Linked DNA regions of Homo sapiens: region 1 is linked to region 2. The links are contacts of gene promoters, found by promoter capture Hi-C in human tissues and cell types (Jung and others, 2019). All regions are on one chromosome and are shown on one strand. The core of a region is centred on a gene start or on the middle of the fragment in contact, and the rest is flanking DNA. Distances in the headings are between cores, read along the strand shown. Region 1 overlaps ZFR2 (zinc finger RNA binding protein 2). Region 2 holds the start of ATCAY (ATCAY kinesin light chain interacting caytaxin).

The links. The method cuts DNA at HindIII sites, captures the fragments that hold promoters and counts their contacts. A contact is called where the count stands out against the background at its distance.
Region 1: a contact is called between a fragment that was not itself captured here and the fragment with the promoter of ATCAY in region 2, in 3 of the 25 tissues and cell types used here (adrenal gland, dorsolateral prefrontal cortex and mesenchymal stem cells).

The regions. Positions count from the first base shown.
Region 1 is chr19:3,841,704-3,847,360 of GRCh38, forward strand. All of the region lies in intron 1 of ZFR2 (zinc finger RNA binding protein 2), which reads right to left. Among named protein-coding and RNA genes, the nearest start is that of ZFR2, 25 kb to the right of the region's middle. RefSeq lists an enhancer at 1,528-2,027. The HindIII fragment of the contact is 7,455 bases long and covers 1-5,657 here.
Region 2 is chr19:3,877,738-3,883,089 of GRCh38, forward strand. It overlaps ATCAY (ATCAY kinesin light chain interacting caytaxin), which reads left to right and starts at 2,948. Exons shown (of 13, transcript NM_033064.5): 1 at 2,948-3,271. RefSeq lists an enhancer at 2,623-3,153. The HindIII fragment of the contact is 15,458 bases long and covers 1-5,352 here.

The DNA of each region.
Region 1 (5,657 bases), core at 1,591-4,090, 36 kb before region 2:
TTGAGGCGGGAGGATCGCTTGAGCCCAGGAGTTTGAGGCTGCAGTGAGCCATGATTGCACCAGCGTACTCCAGCCTGGGCCACAGAGCTGGACACTGTATTGAGACAGAGTCTCACTCTGTCGCCCAGGCTGGAGTGCAGTGTCACAATCTTGGCTCACTGCAACCTCCACCTCCCAGTTTCAAGCAATTCTCGTGCCTCAGCCTCCCAAGTAGCTAGGATTACAAGCGTGAGCCACTGTACCTGGCCAAAATCCATAATACTCTTAAACTTGTAGGTCTGATGTGTCACAGGTAAAGCAGAGTGACTTTTTTTTTTTTATTTTTTTGAGATAGGGTCTGGCTCTGTCACCCAGGCTGTAGTGCAGTGGCATGATCATACCTCACTGCAGCCTCCAACTCCTGGGCTCAAGAGATCCTTCCACCTCAACCTCCTGAGTAGCTGGGACTACAGGCGTGCACCACCATGCCTAGCTAATTTTTTTATTTTTTGTAGAGATGGGGGTCTTGCTGTGTTGGCCAGGCTGGTCTTGAACTCATGAGTTCAAGTGATCTGCCCGCCTCGGCTTCCCAAAGCACAGGAATTACAGGCGTGAGTCACTGTGCCCGGCCAGAGTAACTCTACCATAGCAACGAGAGACCCTGAGCATTAGAATTGCACATTGATGTTTGGAAAATGTTAGACAGCATGCAATTCAATTTTTAAAGCAAAGAAACCCTGTAGCTGTATATAATTTTGATCTAAAAACTTGAGTCATTACATTATCTTTTCCATTTTGTCTGAAAAAATGACAGCTTTATTGAGATATAATTCATTTCCTATAGAATTCAACCATTTAAAGTATAAAATGTAGTGGTTTTCAGTATATTCACAGAGATGTACAATTGTCACTTCAATGCATTTCAGAACTTTTTTTTCTTTTTTCTTTTTTTTTTTTTGAGACGGAGTTTTGCTCTTGTGGTCCTGGCTGGAGTGCAGGGGCATGATCTCAGCTCACTGCAACCTCTGCCCCCAGGGTCCAAGTGATTCTCCTGCCTCAGCCTGTCGAGTAGCTGGGATTGCAGGTGCACGCCACCAAGCCCAACTAATTTTTTGTATTTTTAGTAGAGATGGGGTTTCACCATGTTGGTCACGCTGGTCTCGAACTCCTGACTGCAGGTGCTCCACCTGCCTTGGCCTCCCAAAGTGCTGGGATTACAGGTGTAAGCCACCGTGCCTGGCCCATTTCAGAACATTTCATGACCCCACAATGAAACCCCAGCAGAAGGGAAAATGTAATGGTGCAGCCATTGTGGAAACAGTCTGGCAGTTGCTCGAAAGTTAAATCTAGAATTATCTCATGACTCAGCAATTCCACTCCTAGGTTCCTACTCAAAGGAAAAGAAAGCAGAGGCTCAAGAAGGTATTTTACACCAATGTTCACAGCAGCACTGTTCACAGTGGCTAAAAGGTAGGAGCAACCCAACCGTCCATCAGTGGATAAATGGGCTGGGCGCGGTGGCTCACGCCTGGGATCCCAGCACTTCGGGTGGCCGAGGCGGGCGGATCACTTGAGGTCAGGAGGTCGGGACCAGCCTGGCCAACATGGTGAAACCCTGTCTCTACTAAAAATACAAAAAATAACTGGGCCTGGTGGGGCGTGCCTGTAATCCCAGCTACTCAAGAGGCTGAGCTGGGAGGATTGCTTGAACCCAGGAGGTGGAGGTTGCAGTGAGTTGAGATCGCGCCACTGCACTCCAGCCTGGGAGACAGAGCAAGACTCTGTCTCAAAAAAATTGGATGAATGAACATAACGTGGTCCATCCACACAGTGAAATATGATTCGGCCTTAAAAAGAAAACAAGTCCTGGCCGGGCGCGGTGGCTCACGCCTGTAATCCCAGCACTTTGGGAGGCCGAGGCAGGCAGATCACGAGGTCAGGAGATCGAGACCATCCTGGCTAACATGGTGAAACCCTGTCTCTACTAAAAATACAAAAAGAAATTAGCTGGGCGTGGTGGCGGGCGCCTGTAGTCCCAGCTACTAGGGAGGCTGAGGCAGGAGAATGGCGTGAACCTGGGAGGCGGAGCTTGCAGTGAGCAGAGATCACACCACTGCACTCCAGCCTGGGTGTCAGAGCAAGACTCTGTCTCAAAAAACAAAAAAGAAAGAAAGAAAAAAAACAAGTCCTGACATAGGCTACAAGGTGGATGAACCGTGAGGACATCAGGCTCAGTGAGAGAAGCCAGGCACAGAAGGACAAATCCTGTGTGGTTCCAGTCCTAGGAGGTCCCTAGAGGTGTCAGATTCACAGAGACAGAAAGTAGGATGTGGGGGGGGGGGTGCCAGGGACCGGGGAGGGGAAGGGGAGTGAGTGTTTCACGGGGACAGAGCTTCAGTTTGGGAAGATGAGAAAGTTCTGGAGATGGATGGTGGTGACGGCTCCCCAACCACGTGAATGTGCTTAATGCCACTGAACTATGCACTTATTAATAAAACGGTAAAACTGGTCAATTTTATGTTATCTAGACTTTATCATAATAAAAAGCAAAGAAACCTCATATCCACTACCAATCACTTCCCCTCTCCACCCATCTATCTTGCTTTTTAATGTTAATAGAAATTTCTGAATATTATAGGAAAGTAACTTTTAAAAAAACATACAAATGAAGTTAACTTTTCAATGTTTTACTTTTTTTTTTTTGAGACAGAATCTTGCTCTGTCACCCACACTGGAGTGCAGTGGTGCGATCTCGGCTCACTGCAACCTCCACCTCCTGGGTTCAAGTGATTCTCCTGTCTCGGCCTCCGGAGTATCTGGGATTACAGGCATCTGCCACCATACCTGGCTAATTTTTGTATTTTTGGTAGAGACGGGGTTTCCACCATGTTGGCCAGGCTGATCTTGAACCCCTGACCTCAAGTGATCCACCTGCCTCAGCCTCCAAAAGTACTGGGATTACATGTGTGAGCCACTGCGCCTGGCCCAATGTTTTACATTTAAATTGCATTTATAATGAAGACATATTTAATTTTTGCACATTTGTGGTTTAATGGCATCTTGTGGTTGAATCCTTTAGATGAGTCAGGGTTCCAGCAGAGAACGAGGCCTGGTACTCTGAGGCCTCCACGTGGGAAGGAATTCCTCTCCCTCCCTGGAGTCTGGAATGGAGCTCCCCGTGGCCCACTCCCGGGGGACTCAGTCTCTGCAGCTAGTGTCTGTGCTCTGCAGTTTCCAGGCAGAACCCTGATTGGGAAAGGGGGCTGCAGGGTTGCCCCAGGTGGTCATGGCCAAGTACCACAGCTGGGTGGCTTCAGCAACACAGACTTATTTATTCTCACAGTTCTGGAGCGTGGATGTCCTAGATCCAGGTGTCAGCAGGGCCGGTCCCTCTGTGGCTTGCAGACGGCAGTCTTTGCCCTGTGTCCTCACGTGGTTGTCCCTCTGTGCGTGTCTGTGTTCTAATCTCTTCTTACAGGGATCCAGTCGGATTGGATTAGGGCCCATTCTGCATTGGGCTAAATTGATTAAGTTTAATTCATTTCAACTTAATTCTCTCTTCAAAGACCCTGGCTCTCCAACTGCACCCTAGACTGGGCAGCATAGTCAGACCCTGTCTCTACAAAATTTTTTTTTTATTACAGAAGTATAAAGGGGGGCCAGTCATGGTGCCTCACACCTGTAATCCCAGCACTTTGGGAGGCCGAGGCAGGAAGATGGCTTGAACCCAGGAGTTTGAGGCCAGCCTGGGCAACATAGTGCTACCCTATCTCTATTAAAGAAGAAAATTTCAAAAAAAGAAAAAAAAAAAAGGTAAAACTGCAACATGGTCCCTACAAGGTCACACTTTTGTAATCCCAGCACTTTGGGAGGCTGAGGCAGGAGGACTGCTTGAGCCCAGGAGTTTGAGGCCAGCCTGGGCAACATGACAAAACCCCATCTTTACAAAAAAAAAAAAAAAAATTAGCCAGGCGTGGTGGTGTGCACCTGTAGTTCCAGCTACTCAGGAGGCTGAGGAAGGAGGGTCACTGGAGCCCAGGAGGTCAAGGCTGCAGTGAGCCATGATCACACCACTGCACTCCAGCCTGGGAAACAGTGAGATCCTGTCTCAAAAAAAGAAGAGGAAAGAAAAAAACTAAAAATAAGTCAAGACCCTGTCTCCAAATCCGGGCATATTCAGAGGTACTGAGGGTTAGGACTTCAACACAGGAAGGTGTGGGAAAAGGGCGCGGATTCAGCCCCTGATGGCTGCTTCAGGTCATGTCCATAATACACTGAAATGATATGGAAATCTTTTTCTTTTTTGTTTTCTGAAACGGAGTCTTGCTCTGTCGCCAAGGCTGGAGTGCAATGGCACAATCTTGGCTCACTGCAACCTCTGCCCCCCAGGTTCAAGTGATTCTCCAGCTTCAGTCTCCCAAGTAGCTGGGACTAAAGGCGTGTGCCACCACGCCTGGCTAATTTTTGTATTTTTAATAAAGACGGGGTTTCACCATGTTGGCCAGGCTGTTCTTGAACGCCTGACCTTAGGTGATCCACCCGCCTCAGCCTCCCACAGTGCTGGGATTACAGGCGTGAGCCACTGCACCTGGCCCATTTTTCCAAATATTTTTGATCGGCAGTTGGTTGAATCCACAGAGGCAGAACCCATGGATAGGGAGGGTGGGCTAATTAAATCCAGCCATCTTTGATGTTTTGCCGACTCGAAAAGCCACAGCACCACACAGTTTTTGTGTATGTTGTTAGAAAGGTATGTTTGTCATGGTGAGCGGGACAGAACATACTGTATTTAACTTTAGCGAGCTTGGTTGGTAATGTTAAAATATGTAGACATATGGTAGGCAGGCTTCCATCTGTACTTCTGCCCTGGGCCTCCCAAATGTAAAGACTGATTAGTTACATAAGCAGAACACGCATCTTTAAAAAAAGACTGTTTACTTGTTTGAAACTGTCCCGATTCATTCACCTTTTTCCCATTTTCCTTACTACATAAGCGGAATGTGCTTCTAAAAGAAGAATAATTGTTTACTTGTTTGAAAATATCACAATTCATTCACCTGTTTTCCTTAATTACATAAGCAGAATATACTTCTACAGAAAAGACTGTTTACTTTGAAAACATCATGATTCATTCACCTATTATCCGATTGGTGGACATTTATACTATGTGTTAGTTATCTCCTGCTAAGTAATAGATTAACCTTGCAAAACAACGAGGCTTTAAACACTGTGTCTGTGGATCAGGAATTTGGGACGGGCTTCGGGCTTCTGGCTTGGGGTCTTTTATGAGGTTGCCAATGAGAGGTCAGCGGCGGGCAGCAGGATCTGCTTCCAAGATGCCTTCCTGCCAGGGTTGGCAAGTTGGTGCTGACTGTTGGTGGCAGTCCTTGTTCCTCCCAGGCAGGCCTTTCCTCACACGGCTTGAGTGTCCTCACAACATGGCGGCCAGCTTCCTCCAGAGCAAGGGATATGAGGGAGAGCAGGGGAGAGGGCGGCACACACAGCAGGTGAAAGTTGCCCTTGTTATGATGCAGCTTCAGGAATCATTTCATAGAGCCGGGGGCAGGGGGGTGGCTCACACCTGTAATCCCAACTACTCGGGAGGCAGAGGCAGGAGGATCGCTTAAGCCCAGGGGTTCTAGACTAGCCTGGCCAACATGGTGAAAGCCCATCTCTAC
Region 2 (5,352 bases), core at 1,698-4,197:
ACAAAAACAGCATAAATTAACTGAATTAGGGAAGCCACGCCTCTGCCAGCCGTGAGCTGGGAAGAAGCAGATACCTCAGAGGCAGGGAGCGCAGGCGGGTGATGATGAGAGGGGCCACAGCCGCAGCCCCACGCAGGGGAGCCCACCACTAACCCTGCACCCCCACCCCTGCACAAAAGAGCTGGTGGGCACTAGCCATATCGCCTTGCAACCTTCCTCGGATGCAGAATCCACTCCTTCAGGCATCCTCTTCCTCCAATGCTCTGAAGGCCTGGGGAGCCTGAGAGATGCCCGCTGCACCCAGGCAGGGCTCGCCTTTGTTTGCCAGTAATGGGAATTACTCATATCTTGTGCCCAGTGCCCAGCACAGGGACTCATCGAATCCACCCCTCAGTTAACACAAGTGTCTCTTACAAGACCTCCATTTTCTCCAGCCAGGAGATGGGAAGTCCCAACCTTGTGCTAAAGTCTCTGGGGCCTCTGCTTCCCCATCAGGGCTTTCTGCCTCTGCTGTGGGCAGGTTACCTTTATGCCTCGGAAGAGTGCAGACCTCCATGCAGCGGGTGAGGCTGCCAGCCTAGGTGGGGTGTCATTGAATGTCATGAAGGGAGCCAGCCTTCATGCACTCTGCCTGCGTCTCCTGAACAGCTTTGGACCAGGAGTTGCTACCTTGTGCGGAGAACGTGTGGTGCATAAGAACAACCGAGCCTCTGCTCTTCGAAAATGTATATTCTGGCCAGGTGCGGTGGCTCACGCCTGTAATCCCAACACTTTGGGAGGCCAAGGTGGGCAGGTTGCCTGAGGTCAGGAGTTTAAGACCAGCCTGGCCAACATGGTGAAACCCCGTTTCTACCAAAAATAAAAAAAATAGCTGGGTGTGGTGGTGCATGCCTGTAGTCCCAGATGCTTGGGAGGCTGAGGCATGAGAATCGCTTGAACCTGAGAGGAGGAGGAGGTTGCGGTGAGCTGAGATCACACCACTGCACTCCAGCCTGGGAAACAGAGCAAGTCTCTGTCTCAAAACAAAACAAAACAAAACAAAACCCAGTATATTCTAATAAGGAGGAGCAGAGAATCAACAACAACAACAAAAAAGTGTAAATAATTTCAATTAATAGTAAGTGCTGTGGGTCAGGCACGGTGGCTCACACCTATAATCCCAACATTTTTCGAGGCTGAGATGAGAGGCTCACTTGAGCCCAAGAATTCAAGACCAGCCTGGGCAATAGAGAGATACCCTATTTCTACAAAAATTACACAGATTAGCAGGGCGTGGTGGTAGGAGCCTGTAGTCTCAACCACTGGAGAGAAAGAGGTGTAAGGATCACCTGAGCCCGGGAGTTCAAGACTGCAGCGAGCTGTGATTGTGCCATTGCACTCCAGCCTGGATGACAGGGAAAACTCCTGTTTCTTAAAAAAATAAGTAAATAAAATAAACATTAAAAACAGCAATAGCAAGAAATACATATAGGCCGAGCACAGTGATTCGCACCTCTAATCCCAGCACTTTGGGAGGCCAAGGTGGGCGGATCACCTGAAGTCAGGAGTTCGAGACCAGCCTGGCCAACATGTTGAAACCCCGCCTCTACTAAAAATACAAAAAAAAAATTAGCCAGGTGTGGTGGTGTGTGCCTGTAATCCCAGCTACTTGGGAGGCTGAGGGAGGAGAACCACTTGAACCTGGGAGTCGGAGGTTGCAGTGAGCCAAGATCGCACCACTGTACTCCAGCCTGGCAACAGAGCGAGACTCCACCTAAAAAAAAAAAAAAAAGAAAGAAAGAAAGAAAGAAAGAAAGAAAGAAAGAAAGAAAGAAAGAAAGAAAGAAAGAGAAAGAAACACATAGGGAGCTTTTCTTGTGCCCCAGCACTGTGTTTAGTGCTGTCTATGCATTATCTCATAATGTGGAAAAGCCATAGCGGCTCCATTTCACAGATGAGAAAAACTGAGGCCCGCAGGTGAGATCACTCATGCCCACTGGTCTGCCAGCTGGGGAGTGGCTGGGCTAGAGTTCAAACCCACTTCCAGTCCGACTGCACGGCCTGCACTCTCCACCCTACCATCTTCCACAGTCTCCTTGAATTCCTCCAGGGCGAGGCCACGCCAGCGCACAACTGCAGGGGGCGCCGTTCCCACAGCAGCCCTGCAAAGTGAGTGTGCCTGAGAAACTTCCGCCTCCCCTGCACCCAGCCCTGTTTAGGGCACGAGGCTGAATCAATGGTAAGTGACCATCTAATGGACCCACAACACGGTGACCTGGGGACAGTCATTTCTTTCTTTTTTTTTTTTTTTCTTTGAGACAGAGTCTCCCTCTGCCGCCCAGGCTGCAGTGCAGTGGCGCCATCTCGGCTCACTGCAACCTCCGCCTCCCAGGTTCAAGCGATTCTCCTGCCTCAGCCTCCCGAGTAGCTGGGATTACAGGCGCACGCCACCACGCCTGGCTAATTTTTGTATTTTCAGTAGAAACGGGGTTTCACCATGTTGGCCAGGCTGGTATCGAACTCCTGACTTCAGGTGATCCTCCCTCCTCGGCCTCCGAAAGTGCTGGGATTACAGGCGTGAGCCATGGCATCCGACCTGGGGACAGTCATTTCTTTGCCTGCACAGACTTTTTGGGGGATGCCACCCCTCACCCCTGCTCCCTTTGCAAGGAGAAGTGCCAAGAAGACCTTTCCCAACTCCCCCACCCCCCATTCTCTAAGGAATGAGGCCATCTTGCCATTTATTTATTTATTTGTCCGTTGTTTTGTTTTTAAATCTCTGATGCGCCATCAGAAAATTATTTCTGCCTCTGCCCCTGGCGTGGCTTTCGGAGATGCTTGTCTGTCAGCCAATGGGGAGGATCGGATTCTGGCAGGGGGCTGTGCTTTTCCGTCAGGCCGCCACCCCCCACCCCCTCCTCCCTGCACACAAAAGCAGCATAAATTAACCGTCTTCGGGAAGCCGAGCCTCTGCCAGCCCTGAGCTGGGAAGAAGCAGCTACCTCGGAGGCAGGGCGCGCAGGCGGGCGGCGATGAGAGGGGGCGCAGCCGCAGCCCCGCGCTGGGGAGCCCACCGCTAACCCTGCACCCCACCCACCCCTGCACAAAAGAGCTGGCGGGCGCTGGCCACGTCGCCCTGGGTGACCTTCCTCGGATGCAGAATCCGCCCCTGCGAGCATCCTCTTCCTCCTAGGCTCTGAAGGCCCGGGGAGCGTGAGCGATGCCCAGCTGCACCCGGGCAGGGCTCGCCTTTGTTTGCCAGTAAGGAGGAGAGGCTGTCTCAGCTGCAGAGGTGAGTGCGCGCATCTCCCCTTCTCCCAGGATAAACCGTCTCCCTGGAAGGTTTATCCGGCAGCCTTTGCCGCCTCTAAATCCCTTTCCAGCAGATGGGGCGGGTGGGAGCAGAGAGCCACGGTCTTGTGACTCCGTGAAGGCCCTCACATCCCTGTTCCCGGTACCAGGGAAAACCGTTCCCTGAGCTGCGCCCAGCAACACAGTTTACCTTCCGCGCGCACCGTTCCCCTCTAAGTGCACCATTTTCAGGACACGCTGAGAGCTCGGGCGGATGAAAACCTCAGCTTCTCTCTGGGACGCTGAAATAGACCCATCCTAGCCCTATGTATTTCCTATTTATAACGCTAGGAAGGCCACCAGCCGACGATTTCGGGAAAAAAAAAAAAAAAAAATCTAAGTGTGTCGATAAAGGCTGTCCTGTGGGGTGGGGAGGAAGGGGGTGGTTTATGGTTTAAGACACAGATGCCTCCTCCTTATTGGAACTCGTATGTGATTTGTTAATAATCAGACATCAGGGCTCAAATGAGCGCTTCACTCCCGTTCCTTGATGTCACTGTCTTCTTTTGGCCGTCCCCAAATGCGAAGCCAGGATCTGAGTGCAGGAGTGTCCGGGGCCCACTGAGGACCCACCCCACCCCATCCTTAGAAGACTGTGGAGTCAACGCCTGTGGCTGCAGCTGGCAGGGGGTGGGGGTCGGGGGCGGGGCTGGTGGGAGTGTTCCTGGGGGCTGAGGTCACACCCAGCTCAGTATAAGGAAGGGAGAGGCGAAGACCCCTTCCTCCGGAGAGCAAATGCGTTTCTACTGCCGAGGAGAACTTACCCTCGCGGGAAGGGCCTGGCTGGCTGCTGCCACCGCCCCCCCCCCGACCCCATAGCATCCAGGAGGGATTTTTTTTTTTTCCATGCTGCGTGTTACTGTCCCTCCTCCAAGCATGAATGACGACATTGAGGACAGAGAATCGAGTGAGAAACGCTCACCCTGTACGGGGGAGGGTCTAGTTTTAGCCGTCCCCTCCCCCCACTTCCTCATCTGGCTGAGGCTGCCTCTGGGTCCTTCCTTGCTAAGCCACAGTCCCCTGTCCCCGATGCAAACCCGATATCTATGCTGGGGGGCTGCAGGTAACCTACTCCACAGAGAGGCAGCCTGGATGCCATGAGAGTTGGGGGCCTTAGATGCTTCATGTATTTGGTTTTTTTGAGACAGGGTCTTGCTATCTTGCCCGGGCTGGTCTTAACCTCCTGTGCTCAGGCGATCCTCGCAAAGTGCTGGGATTACACGTGTGAGCCACTGCCCCCAGCCAGATGCTTTATCTTTTATTTTATTTTTTGAAGTAGGGTCTCTGTTGCTCAGGCTGGAAAGCAGTGGCATGATCATAGCTCACTGCAGTCTCGACCTCCTGGTCTCAAGCGATCCTCCAACTTCAGCCTCCTGAATAGCTGGGACTTCAGGCACCAGGCACCCATCACCATGTTTGGTTAATTTTTGTATTTTTTTTTTTTTAAGAGATGGGGACTTGCTATGTTGCCCAGGCTGGTCTTGACCTTCCAGGCTCAAGCGATCCTCCTATCTCAGCCTCCCAAAGTGCTGGGGATTACAGGTGTGAGCCACCGCACCAGCCAGATGCCTTATTTTATTTTATTTTATTTTCTGAAATAGAACCTCACTCTGTTGCTCAGGCTGGAATGTGGTGGCACAATCATACCTCACTGCAGCCTCCACCTCCTGGGCTCAGGCAATCCTCCCACCTCAGCCTCCTGAACAGCTGTGACTTCAGGCACCCACCAAATTTAATTAATTTTTGTTTTTGTTTTTGCTTTTCGTAGAGATGGTGTCTTGCTATGTTGCCCAGGCTGGTCTTGACCTTCTGGGCTCAATCCTCCCACCTCAGCCTCCTGAATAGCTAAGACCTCAGGCACCCACCATTGTGCTTGGTTAGTTTTTGTATTTTTTTTTTGAGAGATGGGGTCTTGCTGTGTTGCCCAGGCTGGTCTCGAACCCCTGGTCTCAAGTGATCTGCCCAAAGTGCTGGAATTCCAGGCATGCACCACTGCACCCAGCCCCTAGACGCTTTAAAAAG